Linked DNA regions of Homo sapiens: region 1 is linked to region 2. The links are contacts of gene promoters, found by promoter capture Hi-C in human tissues and cell types (Jung and others, 2019). All regions are on one chromosome and are shown on one strand. Each heading gives the region's core, a stretch centred on a gene start or on the middle of the fragment in contact. The rest is flanking DNA. Distances are from core to core; before and after follow the strand shown.

The links. The method cuts DNA at HindIII sites, captures the fragments that hold promoters and counts their contacts. A contact is called where the count stands out against the background at its distance.
Region 1: a fragment that was not itself captured here is called in contact with the fragment with the promoter of PDILT in region 2 in 2 of the 25 tissues and cell types used here (mesenchymal stem cells and spleen).

What each region holds. Positions count from the first base shown.
Region 1 is chr16:20,197,168-20,203,117 of GRCh38, forward strand. No RefSeq gene overlaps it. Among named protein-coding and RNA genes, the nearest start is that of GPR139, 130 kb to the left of the region's middle. The HindIII fragment of the contact is 5,308 bases long and covers 1,486-5,950 here.
Region 2 is chr16:20,400,446-20,406,475 of GRCh38, forward strand. PDILT (protein disulfide isomerase like, testis expressed) reads right to left here and starts at 4,292. Exons shown (of 12, transcript NM_174924.2): 1 at 4,051-4,292. The HindIII fragment of the contact is 3,912 bases long and covers 2,703-6,030 here.

The sequences.
Region 1 (5,950 bases), core at 2,890-5,389, 200 kb before region 2:
ATTCTATTTTACTGCTGGCCATCAACTCAAAGCTATTTCTATTAGATTACTTGGATGTGCAAGACAGCAGGTCAGAAAAATCTACTGGGGGCGCTGGAGGCAGACAGACCTGGGTTTGAGTCCTGATTCTGGCACTTCCTCACTGTTACCTGTTAGAGGGTTCATAAACTTTAATTGCCTTATATGTAGGCATCACAGTCTGAAACCTGTCTCTCTGGGTTCTATACCAGCACCACTACTTACTAGGTGTATGAGCTTGATCATGCTACTTAACCTCTCTGGGTCAGTAAATATGGGGATAATAATAGTACTTACCTCACAGAGCTATATGACGAAGTGAATTTAGGACTACAGAACATAAGACACAATAAATAGTGCCTGGGACATATAAAGTACTATATGTTAACATTATTATTATTATTATTATTATTATTATTATTATTTTTTGAGACAGAGTCTCGCTCTTTCGTCCAGGCCGGAGTGCAGTGGCGCTATCTCGGCTCACTGCAAGCTCCGCCTCCCAGGTTCATGCCATTCTCCTGCCTCAGCCTCCCGAGTAGCTGGGACTACAGGCACCTGCCACCGCGCCTGGCTAATTTTTTGTATTTTCAGTAGAGATGGGGTTTCACCGTGTTCGCCAGGATGGTCTCGATCTCCTGACCTTGTGATCCACCCACCTCGGCCTCCCAAAGTGCTGGGATTACAGGCGTGAGCCACTACGCCCAGCCAACATTATTATTTTTAAAAAGATGATAGGACTGTTATAAGGATGAGCTGGAGTCATTTAGTTAAAAGCATTTTCTAAGCTTATAAAACAATACAAGTATAATTTATTTATGTGAATTAAAAGAGTGGAAGCCCAGAGAATGAAGTTGATGAGTATTATTTCTTTAAAAAGAATTTTAAGAAATGTTTATATATTTGGGAGGTACAAGTGTAGATTTCTTACATGCCTGTATTGTGTTGTGGTGAAGTCTAGGCTTTTAGTACCCATCACCCCAATACTGAACATTATACCCGATAGGTCATTTTTCAGCCCTCATCCCCCTTTTGCCCTCTGATCTTTTTGGGTCAGCAGTGTCTATTATTGCACTCTGTATGCCCACATGTATCCATTGTTTAGCCCCTACTTATAAGTGAGAACATGCAGTATTAGTATTTGACTTTTAGTTTCTGAGTTATTTTACTCAGGATAATGGCCTCCAGTTCCATTCATGTTGCTGCTAAAGAGATGATTTCACTCTTTTTTATGGCTGAGTAGTATTCCATGGTGAGATATATATATATATATATATATATATATATATATACACACATATATATGTATATATAGATATACACACACACATACACACATAATATAAAATTTTATATATTTATATATTATTTATATATAATTATAAATTTTATATGAATAAAAGTATAAAATTTTATATATAATATGAAATATATAATGGTATATATACCCACCATATATACCATATAAATATGTGTATTATATTTATACATTATACCATAAAATATGTATTATATGAAATTACCATATTTTCTTTATTCACTCCTCTGTTGATGGACACTTAGGTTGATTCCATATCTTTGCTCTTATGAATAGTGCTGCAATAAACATATGAGTGCAGTATCTTTTTGATATAATGACGTTTTTTTCCTTTGGGAAAATGAGAAAAAATATTTGCGGGATTCTCTGGATTGAATGGCAGCTCTGTATATATAGTTCTTTGAGGAATATCCACACTGCTTTTCCATAAAGGTTTTACTAACTTACATTCCCACCAACAGCATATAAGTGTTCCTTTTTCTCTGCATCTTTGCCAGCATCTGTTGGTTTTGACTTTTTCATAATAGCCATTCTGACTGGTGTAAGACAGTATATCATTGGGATTTGTGCATTTTTCTGATGATTAGTGATGTTGAGCATTTTTAAAAAGACGTTTGTTTGTCTCTTGTATTTCTTCTTTTGAAAAATGTCTGTTCATGTCCTTTGCCCACTTTTTATTCGGGTTATTTTTTTCTCTCGTTGAGTTGTTTGAGTTCCTTGTAGATTCTGGATATTAGCCCTTTGTTGGATGCATAGTTTGCAAATATTTTTTTCCCATTCTGCAGGTTGTCTGTTTACTCTATTGATTGTTTCTTTTGCTGTGCAGAAGCTTTTCAGTTTAATTAAGTCCCATTCGTCTATTTTGTTTTTATTGCGTTTGCTTTTGAGGACTTGGTCATAAATTCTTTGCCTAGGCCAACGTCCAGAAGAGTTTTTCCTAGGTTTTCTTTCAGAATTTTTATAGTTTCAGGTCTTCTGTTTAGGTCTTTAATCCAACTTGAGTTAATTTTTGTATATGCTGAGATATATGGGTCCAGTTTCATTCTTCTGCATATGGCTATCCAATTTTCCCAGCACCACTTATTGAAGTGTGTCTTCCCCAGAGTATATTTTTGTTGACTTGGATTACTATCATTTCTTCAAGCCCTACTGCGTGGCAGGGACTTTACATACATCATTTAAGTGTCAGAATAACCTAGAAGATGTTATTATTTTTTGCTGACAAGAGAGGGAGCAAGGCAGAGGACAGTAGGGAAATTCACAACCCTGGGCCCAGGCTGTCTGCAACTGAATCCTCACTTGGTTGCTTACTGGCTATGTGAACACAGGTGAATAACATAAACCCCCATACCTCAGTTTCCTAGACTGTAAACAAAGATGTTAAAAACAGTAACATCTACTTGATAGGCTGTTCTGAGGATTAAAAAAAATAATTTTGTGAAGTGTTTAGGATGGTATATGACACATAGTAAAGGTTACATGAGCGTAAGTGAAAGAAAGAGAAAGAAACGAAGGAGGGAGGGAGGAAGGAAGGAAGGAAAGAAGGAAGAAAGAAAGAAAAAGAAAGAAAGAAAGAATGAAAGAAAGAGAAAGAAACGAAATAACCTAGCACCAAAGAGATTAAGTAGTTTGTTTACAACATCTAATATCTGGAGGGGTTGGGATGTAAAAGCAGGTCTGTCTGGGTCCCCTCTGAAGCCTGTACCCCTTCTGCTGAACCAGGCTTAGAAGAGACAGGGACAGGAGATGTGTTTTAGGAGGTCAGGCAGAACCAATCCCCCAGGATTTCAAAGGCAGCGTCTTGTTCTAAATGAATGATCAGGAAAGCCATGAGGCATGCTTGGTGTTCAGAAAGGATAATCGTCAACTTGAAGCTAATCCACTTCACATCAAGCCAGAGTCCCTAAAGCCACTTGGTGGACAGGTCCTTCCTCCACTCCATTCCAGTCAAAGACTTGCTGTGCTGGAGCTCGAAGCTCTGTCTTTTTTGTCTCCATTTGGCAATACTTGGGGAGCTCATCCAGGGACACAGGGACTTCAGGGCCTGTGTCTAGAAATTACAAACCACAGACAAATATTGGAATTCTTTCTTCACTGACACTGTCATGTTTTCTCAGGGACATTTCAATTTTCCAGCCTTTAGCTGCTCCCTGTGAGCTGAGTGAGGGTTCTATCTTGGCAGTGTGGGGCTGGATCGCCTATTAAAGTCTTCATTTGTGCTTTGTTTTCCTGTTCCCTATCCCATTGAATTTAAAATGCTATTGATTTTTAAAAGGCACCACTGTTTTGTATTTCACTAAGAAAAAACAAAACATACTACCAATTAACCGATGACACAAGAAAAATGCACATCTCAGAATAAATAAAATGAGGTGTTTTCTGAGAAGGTAGCCAGTCCTTTGTATGTTTCGTCTGGAAGGTGGACCTCCTTCCTAACATTTGGTTTTGAAAATCAAAGCTTATTCAGGAAATAATGTTAGATGGGTCTTGAAAAAGTGAGGATGAGGGAGACAAGTTCTTCTGGGGGCTGGAGCAGATGTAAGAAGCACAGAGAGAAGAGAAAAGTGAATCCTTAGTCTAGGAAGGTGGTCAGGCTCTGGGAGGCGTTGAAATCTGTGGTTGGCTTCCTCGTAAGGGTGTTAAGAGCTCAAGCTGATGGTCAAGGTGCCTCCTTGAAGGTGTACTTAGGTGCTGGCTTCCAGCCTCCACTGAGGCTCCCACGGCCAAACAAGACTCATCAGCAGTACAGCTGCCTGACTCCAGAGGGCTAAGTGGCTTGAGATCGCTCAGAATATTTGGCACTTTCTAAGAACTTTGAGGCTCTTTCTTAGTCCTTGAGAGTGGGAAGAAGCTCTGATAATAACTAGGATTGAATTTCCTGACTGACCAATGGGATGAGGCTGGGATTAAAATTTAATTCAGAGGAAATAAAGTACTGTGAAAATTTTGTCCATTTAGTTTATAGAACAAGCGCTAAATTGACATCTGTATCTATTACATGTCTGTTACATATGTTTAAGAATTCTTTTACAGACAGGGTCTTTCTCTGTTGCCCAGACTGGAGTGCAATGGCACCATCATAGCTCACTGCAGCCTCAGCCTCCTGGCCTCAGGAGACCCTCCCATCTCAGGCCCCTGAGTACCTGGGACTACAGGCATGCACCACCATGCCTAGCTAATTATTTATTATTTTAGGGGTGCGGCCTTCCTATATTGCCCAGGCTGCTCTCAGGCTCCTGGCCCCAAGCCATCCTCCCACCTTGGCCTCCCAAAGTGCGTTAATTACAGGCATGAGCCACCACACTTGGCTCTAAATTTTTTTTTTTTAATTGAAAACCTACTCTGGGTGGAAACAATCCTTGATCCCAGCCCCAGTTCCCCCAGAATTTTCTGTGTGGCTCCATGGGGTTTTACCTGGTATTTCTCATCATGACACTATAGGTATTGGGGCTGGGTGAATCCTGCACATTGAAGATGGTTTTGCATATTGTTTAACCCTCCCATGGTCAGCGGTGTCCCCTCGGTCACTATGAAAACATAAAATGCTCCCTACATTTCCAAATGACTCTTATGGTGAGGGGTGCCACCTCTGAGTGAGAGCCACTGTAATAATGGGCTACAGCCATGGCTTTGCTGAGTGATGTAAGCCACTCAAACTCTCTGGGCTTACACTTCATTCATCACTGCATTGTCATAATTTAAGGATAAGTTCTTTTTTTTTTTTTTTTTTACAGTCTCCCCTGTAGCCCAGGCTGGAGTACAGTGGCGCGATCTCGGCTCACTGCAACCTCCACCTCACAGGTTCAAGCGATTCTCCTGCCTCAGCCACCTATATAGCTGGGATTACAGGTGCCTGCCACCATGCCCGGCTAATTTTTGCATTTTTCTTAGAGACGGGGTTTTGCCATATTGGCCAGGCTGGTCACAAACTCCTGGGCTCAAGCGATCCACCTGCGTTGGCCCCACAAAGTGCTGGATTACAGGCGTGAGCCACTGCTCCCGGCAAGGATAACTTCTTAATAGGGCAGCAAAAAAGTGTATAAAACAAAGAAACAATCCCCAAAACAACCAGCTGCATAAAAATATACTCTCTGAGGGTAAGCAGGGGAGAAATCAAATATATGTCATTATTAGTGCTGCAATGGTTATTCTTAGAATTACTAAAAATGCAAGAAATTCTAAACAAGTGCTACTTATCTGGTTTCTGTTCAACATAATCAAGAGAACTGGGAAAAATAAACCATGATCATCATAATAAGTACTTAATTTCAGACTAGGGATCATAAGAAAACCACTTGGTTTGGTAAGGGAAAAGGGAATGAAAGGAAGTTTTCCTTATGTAGCATTTCTCTGTGCCAGATACTACAGTAAATCAGGGATCTCTCATTTGATCTTCATTGCAATGCTGAGGTGGGTGGTGGTGTTCCCATTTCACAGATGAGCCAACTGAGACTCAGGGAGGTTATATCACTTGCCCAAGGTCATGCTGCTGGGAATGAGTAAAGACAGTCTTCAAAACAAGGCTCCAAGATCTATAATCTTTTCATACAAAACACTCTGCATGTCAAACAGACGAGAGCATTTACTGAAGCAGCTTTCAAGGCAGCCTGGCTG
Region 2 (6,030 bases), core at 3,042-5,541:
CTCTTTTTAACCCTGGATACACATGAAAATCCTCTGGGGAGCTTTTAGGAGAATACTGACACTCAATCTCACTCCAGACCAATTAATTCAGAATTGCTCAGGATGGGGTCTGGATACCTACATGTTTCAAAAGCTCCCCAGATGATTCTTTTGTTTTATTTCAACTTCTATTTGGGAAATTTTGAATATGTACAAAAATAGAGAGATGGTACAAGGTACCCCCAAGGTACCCATCACTCAACTTCACTTATTGTCATGACCAATGTTATTTTATTTATATTCTTGACTCCCTGCCTTGGATTATTTTGAATCCATTCTGGGAATCATGTCATTTCACCCATAAATATTTTATTATAAATATTTAAAAGGTAAGGATTTTTCAAAACAACACAATAACCACAATACTATGATCATACTTAATGAAATGCACAATAATGTCATCATATCATCAAATATCTAGACAGTGTGCGAATTACCCTGATGGCCTCATAAATTTTAAGTCTGTTTAAATCAGGACTCAAATGAAATCCATGAATTGTCATTGCTTGTTTTGTCTCCTGAGCCTCTCCCAGGTAAATCTATCATTCAGTTTGTAGCTTGAGAAGCACATGGTCAAATGAAACCAACAAAGGGCAAGTGGAGAAAAGGAAGAAGGGCAAGTGGATAACCTGGTTTTCTGGACAGCTAAATGATACAGACCATTTAAATCTGTGTCTCAGCCAAAGGGCTCATTACTGTCAGCCCAGCCTTGAGTCCTTGATGATCTCAAGGTCCCAGAATTCACCAGGTGTTATGCCACTTATCAGCCCGGACTAAGTCTGGTACAGCATGATGACTATTAGGTAGAACCCTTGTTCTTAGAAATAATTTACTTCCTTGTTTATTTGTTCTTTGATTCACTTACTTGTGAGAGAAACGGCTGCCTAAGAATTCTTTGCCCAGCTGGAGACATCAAAGTACTAGAGAGTTAGTTTTTATTCTACAGAAAGTCACTTGAATAACCCCTCCTTTGTGACATAAACGTAAGGTAGGGAGGGTCACCCAGAACCGTCCTAGGCCTGACAGTCCCTTCAAACCTTCCAAACCTCCTCGGTGCCCAGAATCCCTTGCCTGGCAGGAAAGGGCCAGATCTGCAAAAGCCTCAAGGGGCCTTCAGAGAAGAAACCTTGAAATTCAAGATTGTGAGACCATCTCTGAGGGGTGTGGATGGCACTTGCTGGAGGACAGAGGACACTGGGCCAGTGACCCTGAGTCAGCTGGACACCTTCAGGGTACAGAGCTGAACCATGGGCCCAGCTCAGCCACCGTGGAGGGCTGAGCCTCTGAGCAAAAGCCAGGCGGGAGGAGCTACAGTGGGCTCCCTCTCATGTCCTCGTCTCCCAGGCCTTTGGCAGAGTGTTCGCCCTGAGTTCCTGATCAAGGAAGGGGCAGTGGGAGGTGTCAGGTTTCCTGCTAACCTGGGCAGGCTGGATCATAAGCCTCAAATGTTTCCAGTGATTCATGTCCAACAGGACGGAGATCAAGCCCCACTGGCTAGTGAGCAGAGCCCTCCACAGTCGGTCAGACTCTGGCCACCAGGCTTCCCTTTGGCTCCACGGAGCCAGCCACAGCTCCTCTTTACTCACTTGCTCACTCATTCATTCATCAAATATTTTTGAAGTCTTAAAACATGTTAAGTACCATTCTAGGTGCTAGGGATACAAACAATATTCCTTACATCTTAGTAGTGGGAAATGCAGTGAGATAAATAGATGCAATCAATGGTGTGTCAGATGATGGTAATGCAAAGGAGAAAAGGTGGATAAGAGAAGATTCAAAAGTGTTGGAGTCAGGGAGGAGTGTTGATCTTTTCTTTTCTTTTCTTTTCTTTTGAGACAGGGTCTCGCTCTGTCGCCCAGGCTGCAATGCAGTGGCGCGATCTCGGCTCTCTGCAACCTGCGTCTCCCTGGTTCAAAGGATTCTCCTGCCTCAGCCTCTGGAGTAGCTGGGATTATAGGCGCGTGCCATCATGCCCGGCTAATTTTTGTATTTTTAGTAGAGACAGGGTTTCGCCATGTTGGCCAGGCTGGTCTGGAACTCCTGACCTCAGGTGATCCGCCCACCTCGGCCTCCCAAAGTGTTGGGATGACAGGCATGAGCCACTGTGCCTGGCTGATATTTTAAAATAGGGTGACCGTGGGAAAGCTTCATTTAGAAGTTGACATTTGACTAAGGGAAGCAAAGAAGTGAACTACTGTATTTGCATTTCTGGGAGTGTGGGAGAAATAGTCTCTCTCTGCCCTGCTGCTGTTTTTTCTCCCAATCTCTCCCACAATACCTGGCTCAGCTCTGCAGCATCCCAGGGCTCCCCTGAGACTGTAGCATCCACCCTGTCCAGCCCTGGGACTGTGCTCTCAGCCATCCTGCCTGCAGCCTGCCCTGACCTGCCCCTTTATTCTCTCAGCCTTGGCCCTTGGTTCTGCCGGCACCTGCCTTTCTAGCCTGACACCACTGTGGCTCCGCTGTGTCCCCCAGCCTCACAAAGTCCAAGCTCAGCTCCAACATCAGCTCCCTACCCCCTACTCAGAGGAGAGTGGCTGTCATGGGAAACTTTTATTAATGAGAATAGCCAAAATCGAGGGGCTGGTCACCAGCCATATTGTGCTGAGTGTCAACTGTGTGCATTCCCTCCACATTCTCCCTGTGTGCATTCTCCCTGTATGCCGTGGAGAGACCCCATGTCCCAGCCACTGTGGTTTCCCGCCAAGAGGGTGTGGTAACCTCCTTACTGATCCTGCCTCTGCTTCTACTCTTTGTGCTTCACCTCAACCCATTCCCCACACAACAATCAGACATTTCCTTTATTTTTATTTTTATTGTTTGAGACAGAGTTTTGCTCTTGTTGCCCAGGCTGGAGTGCAATCACATGATCTTGGCTCACTGCAGCCTCCGCCTCCTGGGTTTAAGCGATTCTCCTGCTTCAACCTCCCTAGCAGCTGGGACTACAGGCACCCGCCACCATGCCCGGCTAATTTTTGTATTTTTAGTAGAAACGGGATTTCACCATGTTGGCCAGGCTGGTCTCAAACTCCTGACCTCAGGTGATCCACCTGCCTGGGCCTCCCAAAGTGCTGAGATTGCAGGCGTGAGCCACCGTGCCCAGCAGAGATTTCCTTTCGACACAGGAATTCCATCACACCACTGTGCCTATCAAAAGGTGCTCACTTTTGTGCAAAAAAAAGCTTCTGCCTCTTTTTTTTTTACAATCCATTCGCAAAACCGCACACCAGCCAAACTGTTCTCTGTGGTCTACCAGGCCCCACTGGCTCTGGACCCATCTGACCTTATCGCCCTCCTCTCTCTCTCTCCTCCCGCACTCTGGGGAGCCACACTGGCCTCTTCCCTTTCCCAAGCACACCCTACCCGGGGCCTTTGCCTCTGTCTGGGGCACCCTTCCCTCACATCGTCAGCCTTTTCTGGTTCTCTGGGTCCTAGCTCGAATCCACGCTCATCAGAAGGGTCTTCCCGGGCCACTCTGTCTCACCCCATCTCAGCTTTCAGCACTCTCTGCCATATCACCATTGTTTGCATCATATTTTGTATTATTATTTATGAGTGTACTTTGTTGTTGTTGTCATTTTGAACTTTTTAATGTAAATACCATTGTTCACAGCTGTTTTCTCCCCTTCAGAACAGTGCCTGTACCAGATTTGGAACTCAATGAATGTTTGTTGAATGAATGAATGAATGGCCTAATTTAACTCTTACAGCAAACCCCATTGGTTCATTTCAGTGGTTCTCAACCATGACTATGCTGAGAATCTCTTGGAGAGTTTAATAAAAAATACTGATGTTCAAACCCAAACCCAGTAGGTTCTAATTTAATTGATCTGGGGTTGGGTGAGTCTGGGCATTATTATTATTTTTTAAAATCCTCAAGTTGATCCTAATGTGTAGCCATCTATACACCAAAACTGACACTTAAAACTTAAACTGGTGACTCCTGGTAGAGAAAAGCCTCCCAAGGCAGGGCCCATCAGTCAGATTTCCCATTTTCACTGAAGCTCATACCTGCAGGAAGCCAAGGCCACTCCCAGGGTTCCTGGGGCCAAGGTGGGGCTGTGCTGGGGGTGGGGCCACAAACTCTGTGGCCCTTAAGAAGGAAGGTTGTAGCCTGAAGAGGAGGCTCCTGGCTTCTCCTTGTGATCAGGGCAGGACCCGCAGACGACTGGGCATTCTAAAGAATCCACAGGCAGAAATGAAGTCCCTTCCTGGGCACACAGAGGCCACAGCAGCCTCAGCAGCAAAGTTCTGAGTTCTGGGGTTCTAGAGGACCAGGGGTGACCCTGTAGAAGAATGGGCCATTGTTGAGTAAGAGGGGGCCCTGCCTGGCAGCCCTTGCTGAGTTTGCTTGAGGGGCTAGAAACAAAACTCAGTGTGGGGTGCTGGGTATGGCCCAGGAGGGCTCTGAACTCAGTGCCTATAGATTGGAATTTGAATCCCAGCTCTGTCTTGAACAGCTGTATGGCCTTGAGAATGTCACTTACTCTTTCTGAGGTTCAGTTTCCATGCCTGTTACATGGCATCTAACTCATGGGGGTGTTGTAAGCAAAGTAAATTATGTGGAATTTAGAAGATAATTAATGATATGAAGAAAAATAAAACCTGGAAGGATGATGAGGAACGCCTGAGAGGGGGATGGGATAAAATAAGAGGATTTATGCAAAACGAGCAGCTCAGTACCTAGAAGGCAGGAGCCCCTCACGCATCACCACCCTGGCCTCATCTCCTAGGGGAGAAAGATCTCCACTCACCCTGCTCCAGCCACACTGGTGTCCCTGCCAGTCCTCCAATACAATGTCTGGGCCTCTACACTTGTGGTTTCCCCTGTTAGGGAGGCTCTTCACCCAGGTGGACTCAGGGTTCACCCCTTAGCTCGTTCCAGTCTTTGCCCAAATGTCACTTCCACAGTTGGGCCTTTCCTGGCCACTTTGTTTAAATTTGTAAGTGCCCCATCCCCCTCTCAGGCGTTCCTCATCCTCCTTCCAGGCTTTATTTTCCTTCATAGCATTAATTTTCTTCTAAACTCCACATAATTTACTTTGCTTACCTGGTGATAGGTGCTCAGTAAATATTTGTTGAATGAATAAAGAAAAGGCTGTTGATATTATTAGCATCGTTATTACTGTCAGAGTTTGCAGCCTTTGGCTATCTGCTGCCCAACTGTTATTAAATACTGATGGAGATGACTAACATTCATTTCACTAAATTTTAACATCTGTGGGTTTTAGTCCTAGCGCTTTGCTCTTCTCTTTCTTTTCTTTTTCTTTGAGACAGTGTAGTGGCGCGATCTCCACTCACTGTAGCCTTCACCTCCAGGGTTCAAGCGGTTCTCCTGCCTCAGCCTCCTGAGTAGCTGGGACTACAGGCATGCACCACCACGTCTGGCTAATTTTTGTATTTTTAGTAGAGACGGGGTTTCACCACATTGGCCAGGTCGGTCTCAAACTCCTGACCTCAAATGATCTGCCTGCCTCGGCCTCCCAAAGTGCTGGGATTACAGGCGTGAGCCACGGCATGCGGCCCCACTCTTCTCTTTCCATACTTAACTTCCATACTTTTGTTGGCTTGTTTAAATGCATGACTTCAAATACACCCCTTTATAAGTTACTCTCTCATTTACTCTCCAGGATTTGATCAATTGATTACATTTACTATTAAGACCGTTTTCCATCTGCCTATTAGAAAAGCTCTTTTTGGTTGAACCACACTCACTGAATATCTGAATGTCTTAATTTGAACTCATCATGTCCCTTTCAACTTTTCTTGGCAATTATTCCTTTTCTGGATGTTGTGTTTGCAAATAATTCCTGGGATGTGTTTGACTCTTTTTTCTCCCAGGCCTAAATCAACAATCTAGTCTGGCATATATTATTTTGACATCTTTCACACTTGTCAACTGTTAGTCACAAACTAAAACACTTGGGTTATTATCCCAAATGTCCTTCATTCATTTTCCTTCACTCTTGCACACAGTTGTTTCTTGACATA